Linked DNA regions of Homo sapiens: region 2 is linked to region 1. The links are contacts of gene promoters, found by promoter capture Hi-C in blood cells and fetal thymus (Javierre and others, 2016). All regions are on one chromosome and are shown on one strand. Each heading gives the region's core, a stretch centred on a gene start or on the middle of the fragment in contact. The rest is flanking DNA. Distances are from core to core; before and after follow the strand shown.

Region 1 (5,537 bases), core at 1,741-4,240:
ACACACACACACACACACACACACGCCCCACCCTCCCCTCCACAGGGACCTCGCAGGAAATCACGTGGGGCTCCCTTACACCAGGGATTGCAGTCCTGGGGAGGGTGGTGTGCCATCTCAGGGCAGAGCCCCCCACCAAAACCACTGAGGGGAAAACCAGTCCCAAGCCCCACTCCCGACCGGCCCTCTCCCCACTTTTCTCTTTGCTCCTCAAAGACCTGTCTTGGGAGGGTGACTACCTGAGCGCTGCTGGGAGGAGTGGAGGTGAGTGAGGACGGTTCCAAGCCAGGCTGAGAAGGGCGCCGACCAGTGGAACTGCAGCCAAGGGGCAAAAGGTGTCCGGAAGACAGCGATTATGGGGTTTCCCCATCCCATCACAGCCTTTTGGGGGCTGGGGTGAGGGATTCTTTCCTCTCTTCTTCAGGCAACCCGTCCAATCCCCCCATGTTCCCTGTGGACTGCAGCACCTTTTCCGCAGCCGAGCCCCCTAAGGTGTCCACTCATGTCTGCAGACGGTCCCAGAAAGAGACCATCGGAAGCCATTGGGAATGGACTCCAGGTCAGGGCTGGGCACAGCCTCACAGGGCAGGGCTGGGCTAATCCCCGCTGGCTGAGGAAGGGGAGAAGGAAATTCCCGCAGGCTGCAGGGGATGGGTGCAAGCCAACAGAACACAAGGCGCTTTGTTTGCTCCAGGTAACTGCTCAGTTCTCGCTCACAAAGTGCAGATGCATCCGCTACCCTCACTCCACTCCCAACACCAGAGTTGACTCTGAGAGCAGCGGTGCCCAGACCTGGCCACTGCGGGCAATCAGTGCCGTTCCCATCCAGCCATCCAACGACAGTCACTGTGGACCCATCTCCACCCTCCCTAGAATAAGCAAAAGCATCTAAAATTTGGGGTATCCCTTTCCCCCACCTGCCCAAATCCTCACTCTGAGGAGCCAGGTGACTGCACTCCCCTCTTTTAGCATCAATAACAGAGGTTAAAGACACTTTAAGGTGAGCTAAGTGTAGGCAGTCTTTCTCCCCCACCCTAAAGGCCCTCCTCAAAAAGCCCTCAGGAAGCCTGCGTCTGTGCTAAGCGCAGCTGGGGTACAGCTCCCCAATCCCTGACCCTCTCCACACCTCAGAGCCTAAACTTCGCTTCTAAAGAATTCTGGGTTGAATTTACTTCTATAGAAGTCAGGTCTGTGATGTGTATATTTTATCTTTATATCTATTTCATTTTATTTGACTTCCCAGGATTTTTTTTTCTTCCCCCTCAAGAATTGCTCTTTAAACATAAGGGGGTTTTGAGAGGAACCTCGGGCCGGTCCCTCAGGCTGTTAGGAAAGTCTGCATTTTGCAGAGCTGCTCTCCCCGGGAGGAGATGAACAATGAGCTAATTACATTTTTATCTTTCTAATGAGCTGAGGATTTGTGTAAATGAGAAAAGCAGGGGGTACGCTAGAGGGAGGGAGAAAAGACTTTCCACCCCCAGCCCTCCGAGGGCAGAGCTGGTACCTGGAAGGGGTGGAGAAACAGAAGTCCCCACGGTTCCTAAACTTTCTCAGCCAGTTTTGCAGCAATCCCAAGGCTACTTGACTGAATGACCAGTGAAGGAAAGGGCTTGGTTTTATTTTTTAAATCTTTGTCGAACCTATGAAAATAAACAAAAGCTGCTCCAAGCATTCTCTCGGCCTTTCTGAACTTTCTACGCTTTGGGTTTTTGTTTTTTCCTCCCGTCTCAGAGGTTAAAAACTTCGATAGGGACTCGGAGTCCTCCTAGAGGAGAGGGAAGCTCCCCTGTTATTTAAAGCGCAAGGCTTTGTTTCAGGTATGGGAAAGGCGAAGTTGGATCCCAGGAAGAGCGGCTCCGGGGACCACAGCGAGTCCCTGCGAGGCCAAGGCGCAGAGCTGCCGCTCCCGGGCCAGCCCCGCCGTGCACCTGGGTCGCGAGGGGCGCTGAGCGATACCTGGGACAGACCAGACGCGCTTAGGAATCACGTGCACAGCATGCGAGCAACCTCGGGCCCTCAGTCCCCAGCACCGGGACCCAGCGGCGGGCGGGCGTAGGGTGGCGCGGGTTCTCCTGCAGCTCCGGCCGGGGGATGGAGGGGGCGGCTCGCGCACGTGGGAGGAGGCAGCCTTACCTTGGGGCTTGGAGGCTTCGGTGGCATTGGGCGGCGTCATGGCGATGCAGACGTCCCCCTCGGGGAACTTGTCACACTTAAGCATCTCGGGCCAGTAGAAGCCGAAGAACTGCATGACCGGCTCGCACGAGTCGCGCACGGCCTCGCAGAGCCAGCGACACGGGTAGATGGGCCGGTCCAGGCAGACGGGCGCGAAGAGCGAGCAGAGGAAGACCTGGGTGCCGGCGTGGCAGTTCTTGTTGAGCAGGGGCACCCAGCTGCTGGCCTGCTGCTTCACCTCCGCCATGGTCTCGTGCTCCAGCAGGTTGGGCAGCACCATCTTCTTGTAGCCCACGTTGTGGCACAGCCGCAGGTCCGCGGGGATGTCCACGCACTGAGGTGGCTTGGTGTAGAAGCGCCCGCTCTGGTACGGGCCGATGTCCGACTGGAAGCTCACGTAGTCGTACTCGCTGGCCGAGCCCACGGCCAGAAGCGCCGCGCCCAGCGCCAGCAGCACGCCCAGGGCTGCCCCGCGGCGGCCCCCCTCGCTGCGCCCGATGCCCATGCCGGCTCTGCGCCCTGTTCTCCGCGACGTCGGGGCTGCCTCCGCCGCCTCCCCGCGCGCGTCCTGCCGCAAACTTCCAGGGACCTCCGGGGACAAAAGGCGCAGTCCCCAGCGTTGCCCGGCTCCGCGGCCGCAAGCTGCTGCCCGGTCCCCCCGGCCAGTGGCGGCCCTCGGCCTGCGGTCGGAGGCGGCGCGGGCGGGGAGGCGGCGCTGCGGGCTGGGTGCGCCCCGGCTCCCGGAGGTGCGGCGAGCAGGAAGGCGCGGGGCGGCGGGCGCGCGGCACTGACTCCGGAGGCTGCAGGGCTGGAGTGCGCGGGGCTCCTACGGCCGAGCCCTCGGAGCCGCCCCGCGCAGCCAATCAGCTCCCGGCGGGGCGAGCCGCACTCGTTACCACGTCCGTCACCGGCGCGGGAGCCAATCGCCTCCCTCGCGAGCGGGTTCGGTTTACTAGAACCAGACGCGGCTCAACACCCCTTAAAAAACAAAACCAAAAATACATAAATAAAAGGGGGAGGAGGAAAGAGACAAGGGGAGAAAAAGAAGGGGAATGGATCACGGCGTGGGGTGGAGAGAGACCAGGGCGGACGCTGTAATTAACTCGCATTGGCTTGCAGAGAAGCGGGGAGCCTGGATCATACTTGCAAACCCATGAAATTATGAAGACTTTTTTTTTTTGAGACAGTTTCGCTCTTGTTGCCTAAGCTGGAGTGCAATGGCGCTATCTCCGCTGACTGCAACCTCCGCCTCCCGGGTTCAAGCGATTCTCCTGCCTCAGCCTCCCGAGTAGCTGGGATTACAGCCGCGTGCCACCATGCCCCCGCTAATTTTTTGTATTTTTAGTAGAGACGGGGTTTCACCATGTTAGCCAGGCTGGTCTCGAACTCCTGACCTCAGGTGATGCTCCTGCCTTGGCCTCCCAAACTTTTTTTTTCTTTTTCTTTACACTGCTTCCTAATTTCAACCAACAGCCCTTTAGACTAGCGGCTCCTCTCCTCGGTTCTCTAGCTGCGGTGCAGACAGGTGGTTTCCCAACTAACAGGGGTTCAGGAAGGCTGAAGCGAGGGAGGTCTGCTTGTAAATACCCAGTGGGCCTGGCTGGGCTCCCTGGAAGGCGAGGCGAAGGCGCAGTTGGAGCTGTTTGCTGTGAGCAGCACCTCTCCAGGTGGGGCCGCCCATGGTGGCCCTCAACACTGGGGCAGTGGGTGGACTTTGCCCGGTGTGGCGGCAGGAAGAGCTGCTAGCAACGGTATTAGCTCTGGGAGGACACTTTTTTAAATATATAATATATATTTAAATAGAAAAACCCTACTCAAGTCCTAGCCCGGGCGACAGCACATCTGTGTGTTTGTGGTGTGGAAAGCCAAAACATTAAAAACACATGTGCACTTATCAGCGTGGCTGGTGTAAATACCAAGTCCATCACTCAGGCACACATGCTAAGGTTAGACCCAGTCCAGGAACTTCAAGTTAAAATCAAGGGTCCCCACTAGGGCAGACGCCAAGAGGACGGTATCAGCACAACAGCTCGGCCCCCAGGAACAGAAGTCTCTCTGCCACCTTCTACCTCGAATTCCTGAGAATTCTTCGTAGGTTTCAAACATTCCCCTGAGAGGGAGGGTTAAGCTCTGGAGAGCTGGGAGTGAGACCCGGACTATCCCGGGACAGAAGACCACAGCAAATAGTTCATGAAGTTCCTGGAGTCTCCATATCTTCTGTCCCTAAGTGCGGGTGGAGAGAGGCTGATATATTCATAGCCCAGTCTGAGCGCACACCCCATGTGGCAAAGGGGTCACAGATCTTAGCGCTCCACAGAGACACTATAGGGCGCGCTGCCTTGCCCGCCAGCTTGTTTGTAAAGCTCTAGGGAGCTTGCTTTGGACTCTGCAAACCTAATTTCTTGATGGACAGATTCCAAGTGAAATGACTAGAGTTTGTGAAGAAGCAGGGCTGTTTTCTTAAAGCATTCGTGCCCGTACAGACACGGTGATTCCACGGTGCACACAGGAGGCTTCTGCAGATGGATGACTTCTCTGTCATTTCGTGGCCAATGGAAGATGCCTTGACACTCAAAAGGTGACATGGAGGCTGGAAGGAAAACACAGAGAAGAGAGAGCAAGATCGGGATGGCCAAGGGTTAATCCCAAGACAATTGGTGAGGCCGGCCTGTGGAGCTGAGGAAGACATTCCTCACAGAGAATAAGACCGCAGGAGACCCGGCAACTGTGTCTCAATTCAAGGGGCATTTAGAGAAAAATGCTGTTTGGTAGGGGGTCTTTTTGTCTCCTAGGGCCAGGCCCTCCACCTCAAGCCAAATGCGTCTGTTTGCTCACTGCAAAGATGGATGTTTGCAGATAACATCCTCTCACCTCTGAACCCAGGCTTAGCTGACCGCTCACTCACGTTTTCAGTTTTCCCGAATGGCAGGAGGACTTGTGTCTGTCCACGGTTAAATGCTGGAAATTCGTCCAGGTGACTGCCCTGGAAGTCCCAAGTCAGGAGTAAATCTCACAAATCCATTCAGGGGAAGACCTCGCCTATGTCTGGTCACTCCGAGTAGACTTTGATCACCTCCAGTCACCACCTCCCCCACTCACCCCTAGTGGTCCTACTGCTTTACTGACCCCTGCTGGGAACACAGTTGTCTCTCCGTGGAACAGGGAGTGATGGGAGAAGACCCCAAATCCTAAATCCAGTGCACTCCTGACTCCTCCCAGACCCAGCTGGAAAGGAAGGACCCTAAGACCTCAGTCCCACCGAGAGACTTTAATCCATTCCTGGGATGTGGGAGAGGGACCACCCGCCCCCCGTCCTCTCGGGAAATTCACATGCTGCATAACAGCACCAGGCAGAACAGCCTGAA
Region 2 (5,537 bases), core at 1,531-4,030, 210 kb after region 1:
ACCCATAGCATAAACAGTCAATTAACACATTTTAACGTTATATGTGTTACATACTGTATTCTTACAATAAAGTAAGCTAGAGAAATGAGTATGTTACTAAGAATCTAAGGTAGAGAAAATATATTTACTATTCATGAAGTGGAAGTGGAGCATCATAAAGGTCTTCATAAGAAGGAATGAGGGGGCCGAGCGCGGTGGCTCACGCTTGTAATCCCAGCAATTTGCAGGGCCTGGGCGGGAGGATTGCTTGAGACCAGGAGTCTGAGACCAACGTGGGCAACCTAGGGAGACCTCATCTGTACAAAAACTAATAAAAAATAAATAAAAATTGTAAAAAGAAGGAAGGAGGGGTTGGTCTTGCTGTCTCATGGGTGGCAGAGGCAGATGAGGTGGAGGAGGTGGAAAAGGAGGCAAGCACACTGGTGTAACTTACTTGAAAAAAAACCCAACATAAGTGAATCCCAGCGGTTCAAATCCAAGTTGTTCAAGGGTCAACATATATAGATGAATGAATTTTATTCTAAGAGTTCTCCCACAGAAAACAATTATTTCAATAACTGTTAGCCTAAATTTCACAAAACGGGCCGGGTACAGTGGTTCATGCCTGTAATCCCAGCACTTTTGGAGGCTGAGGGGAGCAGATCACTTGGTGTCAGGAGTTCAAGACCAACCTGGCCAACATGGCAAAACTCTGTCTCTACTAAAAATACAAAAATTACCCAGGCATGGTGGCACACACCTGTAATCCCAGCTATAGGGGAGGCTGAGACACAAGAATCGCTTGAACCCAAGAGGTGGAGGCTGCAGTGAGCCAAGATCACACCACTGCCCTCCAGCCTGAGTGACAGAGCAAGACCTTATCTCGAAAAATAAAATAAATTAATTTAAAAAGTTATCAAAATGGTGCCCATGTCTATGATTCATTAACACAAAGAAAAGAAAGACATTAAAATTCAAGACAATAAATGAAATTTTGATACGGGGCACATTCTTGAACAAGGCTACCTTTTACCCTTTACTTTGACTATAATCAGACCTTTTCCCATCACTATAGGAAAAGAGAGAGAGAGAGAGCACGCATTGCCCTAAGGTGCAAGCATTTAGAAATACTGAGTTTGGGCCGGGTGCAGAGGTTCATGTCTGTAACCCCAAACACTTTAGGAGGCTGAGGCAGGAGGATCGCTTGAGGCCAGGACTTCAAGACCAGCCTGGGCAACATAGTGAGACCCCCGTCTCCACAAAAAAAAAAAAAAAAATTAGCCAGGCACGGTGGTACACACCTGTGGTCCCAGCTACTTGGGAGGCCAAGGTGGGAGGATTGCTTGAGCCCAGGAGTTTGAGGCTGCAGTGAGCCATGACTGTCCCACTGCACTCCAGCCAGAGAGAAAGAGAGATTGAATTTGGCCTGGCTTTTATTTAGACCTTAGGACAAGTCCCTCAAGATCTCTCAGCTAAACTATATAGACTTTAATAAATATGAAGCCTTAGGCTGGGCACAGTGGCTCATGCCTGTAATCCCAGCACTTTAGGAGGCTGAGGCAGGTGGATCACAAGGTCAGGAGTTCAAGTCCAGCCTGACCAAGAAACCCCGTCTCTACTAAAAATATACAAGTTAGCGGGGCGCAGTGGCAGGCACCTGTAATCCCAGCTACTCAGGAGGCTGAGGCAGGAGAATCACTTGAACCCGGGCGACAGAGGTTGCAGTGAGCCGAGATCATGCCACTGCAGTCCAACATGGGCAACAGAGTGAGGCTCCATCACAAATAAATAAATAAATAAATAAGACTTGCCCAACACTTGGGCACATAAGCTTCTCATCAAAGATGCCCATGATATAAAGGCACATGAATTTCTTTATGGAAAGGTCACCTTTCTCTTTGCTTGACATATTCAGAAAAGCATTAGGAAAATAATCTTACTCAACCAGCTACATGCTATGTTGGCCACAGTGTTTCATAAGATATATTTAATTTTTAAAAATTTTTTATGATTATTGTATATTCTACAACAAGCAAAGGGGCAGATAGTTCTTATATCTCCTTACAGAGTTTCAGAGGACCTAGGGTCTGAGGAGAGCAAAGGAATTAGGAATATCATAAATTGCCCAGATTTTCCATTTGTAAGGGAGACCCAAGCCTTGCCCGGCTTCCTGAGTTCTCCAGCATCCTGGCCATGCAGCTGGCATTGGGTGTTATCATTGGCCAGAAAAATACGTATAAGTTCACCAGCCAATAGCTTTCCTTATGAGCCTAAGAGAAAACAGCGTAAGCACACTTTTCTGCCTTCCTTAAAGCTCTTTGGGAGCCCAAGGCGGGTGGATCATCATGTCAGGAGATCGAGACCATCCTGGCCAACATGGTGAAACCCTGTCTCTACTAAAAATACAAAAATTAGCCAGGCATGGTGGCACACCCCTGTAGCCCCAGCTACTCGGGAGGCTGAGGCACGAGAATCGCTTGAACCCAGGAGGCGGAGATTGCAGTGAGCCGAGATCATGCCACTGCACTCCAGCCTGGCAACAGAGCAAGACTCCGTCTCAAAAAAAAAAAAAAATGCAAGCTGTCCTCTTACATGGCTGTCTGTAGTGCCAATCTTCATGCATTCAGAAAAACCGGGAGTTAAACTCAACTTAACTAAAACACTCCCAAATCTTAATTCTTTGGTTTCCAGGGCAGTGAGACCAAGATTGTGATGGAATTCAGAAAAAGGGACCCCTGAGAAACAGCTGCTGACCAAACAAGCAAGGGCACTGATATGAGAACAATAATAATGCCATTACTTGTATTCTGAAAGCATCTTTCTCCAGAAAGCTCACAATTCTGTATAGATATACAGTATTTACTGTTGTTTTTCCTTGGTGATTAAAACATTAAATTTGTTCTCATTAATAATGTATCTTTTTGGCCAGGTGCAATGCCTATAATCCTAGCACTTTGGAAGACTGAGGTGGGCGGATCACCTGAGGTCAGGAGTTCAAGACCAGCCTGTCCAACATGGGGAAACCCCATCTCTACTAAAAACACAAAAATTAGCCGGGCATGGAGGCACATGCCTGTAATCTCAGCTACTCTGGAGGCCAAGGCAAGAGAATCGCTTGAACCTGGGAGGCAGAGGTTGCAGTGAACCAAGATCATGCCACTGCACTCCAGCCTGGGCAACAGAGCGAGACTCTGTCTCAAAAAATAAAAATAATGTACCACTGGGCCAGGTGCAGTGGCTCACGCCTGTAATCCCAGCACTTTGGGAGGCCGAGGCGAGCGGATCACAAGGTCAGGAGATCCAGACCATCCTGGCTAACATGGTGAAACCCCGTCTCTACTAAAAATACAAAAAATTATCGGGCGTGGTGGCAGGCGCCTGTAGTCCCAGCTACTCGGGAGGCTGAGGCAGGAGAATGACGTAAACCCAGGAGGCGGAGCTGGCAGTGAACCGAGATCACGCCACTGTACTCTAGCCTGGGCGACAGAGTGAGACTCTGTCTCAAAAAATAGTAATAATAATAATAACGTATGGCTGTCCACAAATATTTTGGCTGTTTCTATTTGCTGTGTCTATAATTTCCATTAACATCTTCACTGAGAATATCTGAATATTGCTGTGGCTTGTCACTTTCTTCAGTTGTATAGGATCCTATTTTCTGTATCTTCCTCTTCCACTTTGGGCAGTAGCTTTTTCCTTCTCTTTCGAGGTAACTTCATGTTTTACTTGTCTGAATTCATGTTAGTATGTTCATCTTGCAATTTAAATCATCTAAGCTTGCCTGCAAATTCTATCCACAAACTTCATCCTCCTAATATAATAATCTATGTAATCACCTTTTATCTGTGATCATTTTAATGAATTGCATTCCATTTATATGGCTATCTTATTATTTCTAAAACACTTCTTGACAGTGGGTGCACATCAACCAGGTGTTCCTGATTTTTCTCTTCATTCTATATAATGTAATTGAAGACCTCTTTTCTCCCACCTTCCTGAACTTTACAGTGCCAAACGATCAACACCAAAAGTTTGTGTGTTGCTTTGGCATTTCTTTTAATAACCCTTCTTTACACAGCAGAAATATTTTTCTGCCAACTCATTTCCTCTAAAAGTGTTTTTGTCTAATGAATATTAGTTGTAATCAAAGATCTTAGAAGTGAAACGGGTCCCTCAATTTTTTGGTCTGTCCCTCTGTCTTCAGGCAGACACATATTAATTTTGTGTAAAAGGTGGTGTGATTAGCCAGGCGCGGTTGGATCACTCCTGTAATCCCAGCAATTTGGGAGGCTGAGACAGGTGGATCACTTGAGGTCAGGAGTTCGAGACTAGCCTGGCAACCATAGCAAAACCCCATCTCTACTAAAATACAAAAATTAGCCAGGCGCGATGGCGTGCACCTGTAGTCCCAGCTACTCGGGAGGCTGAGGTGGGAGAATCGTTTGAACCTGGAAGGCAGAGGTTGCAGTGAGCTGCGATCACACCATTGCACTTCAGCCTGGGTGATAGAGTGAGACTCCATCTCACAAAAAAAAAAAAAAAAAAAAAAAAAAAAAAAGGTGGTGTGACTGATGGCCAGGTGTGGTGGCCCCCTCCTGTAATCCTAGCACTTTGGGAGGCCGAGGCGGGCAGATCACTTGAGGTCAAGAGTTCAAGATCAGCCTGGCCAACATGGTGAAACCCCGTCTCTACTAAAAATACAAAAATTAGCCAAGCGCGGTGGCACATGCCTATAATCCCAGCTACTCAGGAGGCTGAGGCAGGAGAAGCACTTGAACCCAGGAGGCAGAGGTTGCAGTGCACCAAGATCGCACCATTGGACTTCAGCCTGAGGGACAACAGCGAAACGTCATCTAACAACAACAGCAAAAAAGGTGGTGCAACTGAAATCCAAAGTGACTCGTTTAAGGTCACACCTCTATTAAGTAAGGAAGCAGAAGCTGGGCTCTAGCTCTCCAGTGGAGGAGCGGGGGAGATTGGAGAAGGTGGTTGGACCCAGAGAAGGGAAGTTTTTAAATCAATAAACTACATAATCGGCACTTGTGTAGAGACGTTATCTATGCTTGGACTCAAATATGTAACAATTAAGGAATATTAATAAACATCATTGAAAAGCTATTTGGTAATGAGAATTATGGAAGAATGCGATTGTGCTCAAAGACCACTGTTCCAGTCAGCTAATGCTACATAACAAACCACTCCAAAACTTAGGGCCTAAAACAACAACAATACTTATTTTGCTCACAAATCTGCGATTTGGGCAGGGCTCAGCAGAGAAGCTCATCTCTGCTCCCTTCATCTTAGCTGGGACGGTTTGAAGCCTCAGCACTAGAATCACCTGAAGGCTCATTCAACCCAGACATCTGGAGAATGGAACAACTGGGGTTCTGGGGTTCCTCCAGTAAGGCTCCCCATCTCTGCCTGGCATCTTCATATCGACTCTCTTGCACATCGACTGCAGGCTAGCCAGACTTCTTCCACGTCAGCCCACAGCTCTCAAGAGATGGGGCTCCAGAAAAAAGAGCCAAGTGGAAGCCACATTGCCTTTTATGACTTAG

What was found. The method cuts DNA at HindIII sites, captures the fragments that hold promoters and counts their contacts. A CHiCAGO score of 5 or more calls a contact.
Region 2: a contact is called between a fragment that was not itself captured here and the fragment with the promoter of SFRP1 in region 1, in 1 of 17 cell types (endothelial precursors). The highest score is 5.3, in endothelial precursors.

What each region holds. Positions count from the first base shown.
Region 1 is chr8:41,306,483-41,312,019 of GRCh38, forward strand. SFRP1 (secreted frizzled related protein 1) reads right to left here and starts at 2,991. Exons shown (of 3, transcript NM_003012.5): 1 at 2,134-2,991. The coding sequence starts at 2,677. RefSeq lists enhancers at 1,169-1,940, 1,941-2,711, 4,631-5,158. The HindIII fragment of the contact is 12,075 bases long and covers 1-5,537 here.
Region 2 is chr8:41,521,438-41,526,974 of GRCh38, forward strand. No RefSeq gene overlaps it. Among named protein-coding and RNA genes, the nearest start is that of GINS4, 5.1 kb to the right of the region's middle. The HindIII fragment of the contact is 1,945 bases long and covers 1,809-3,753 here.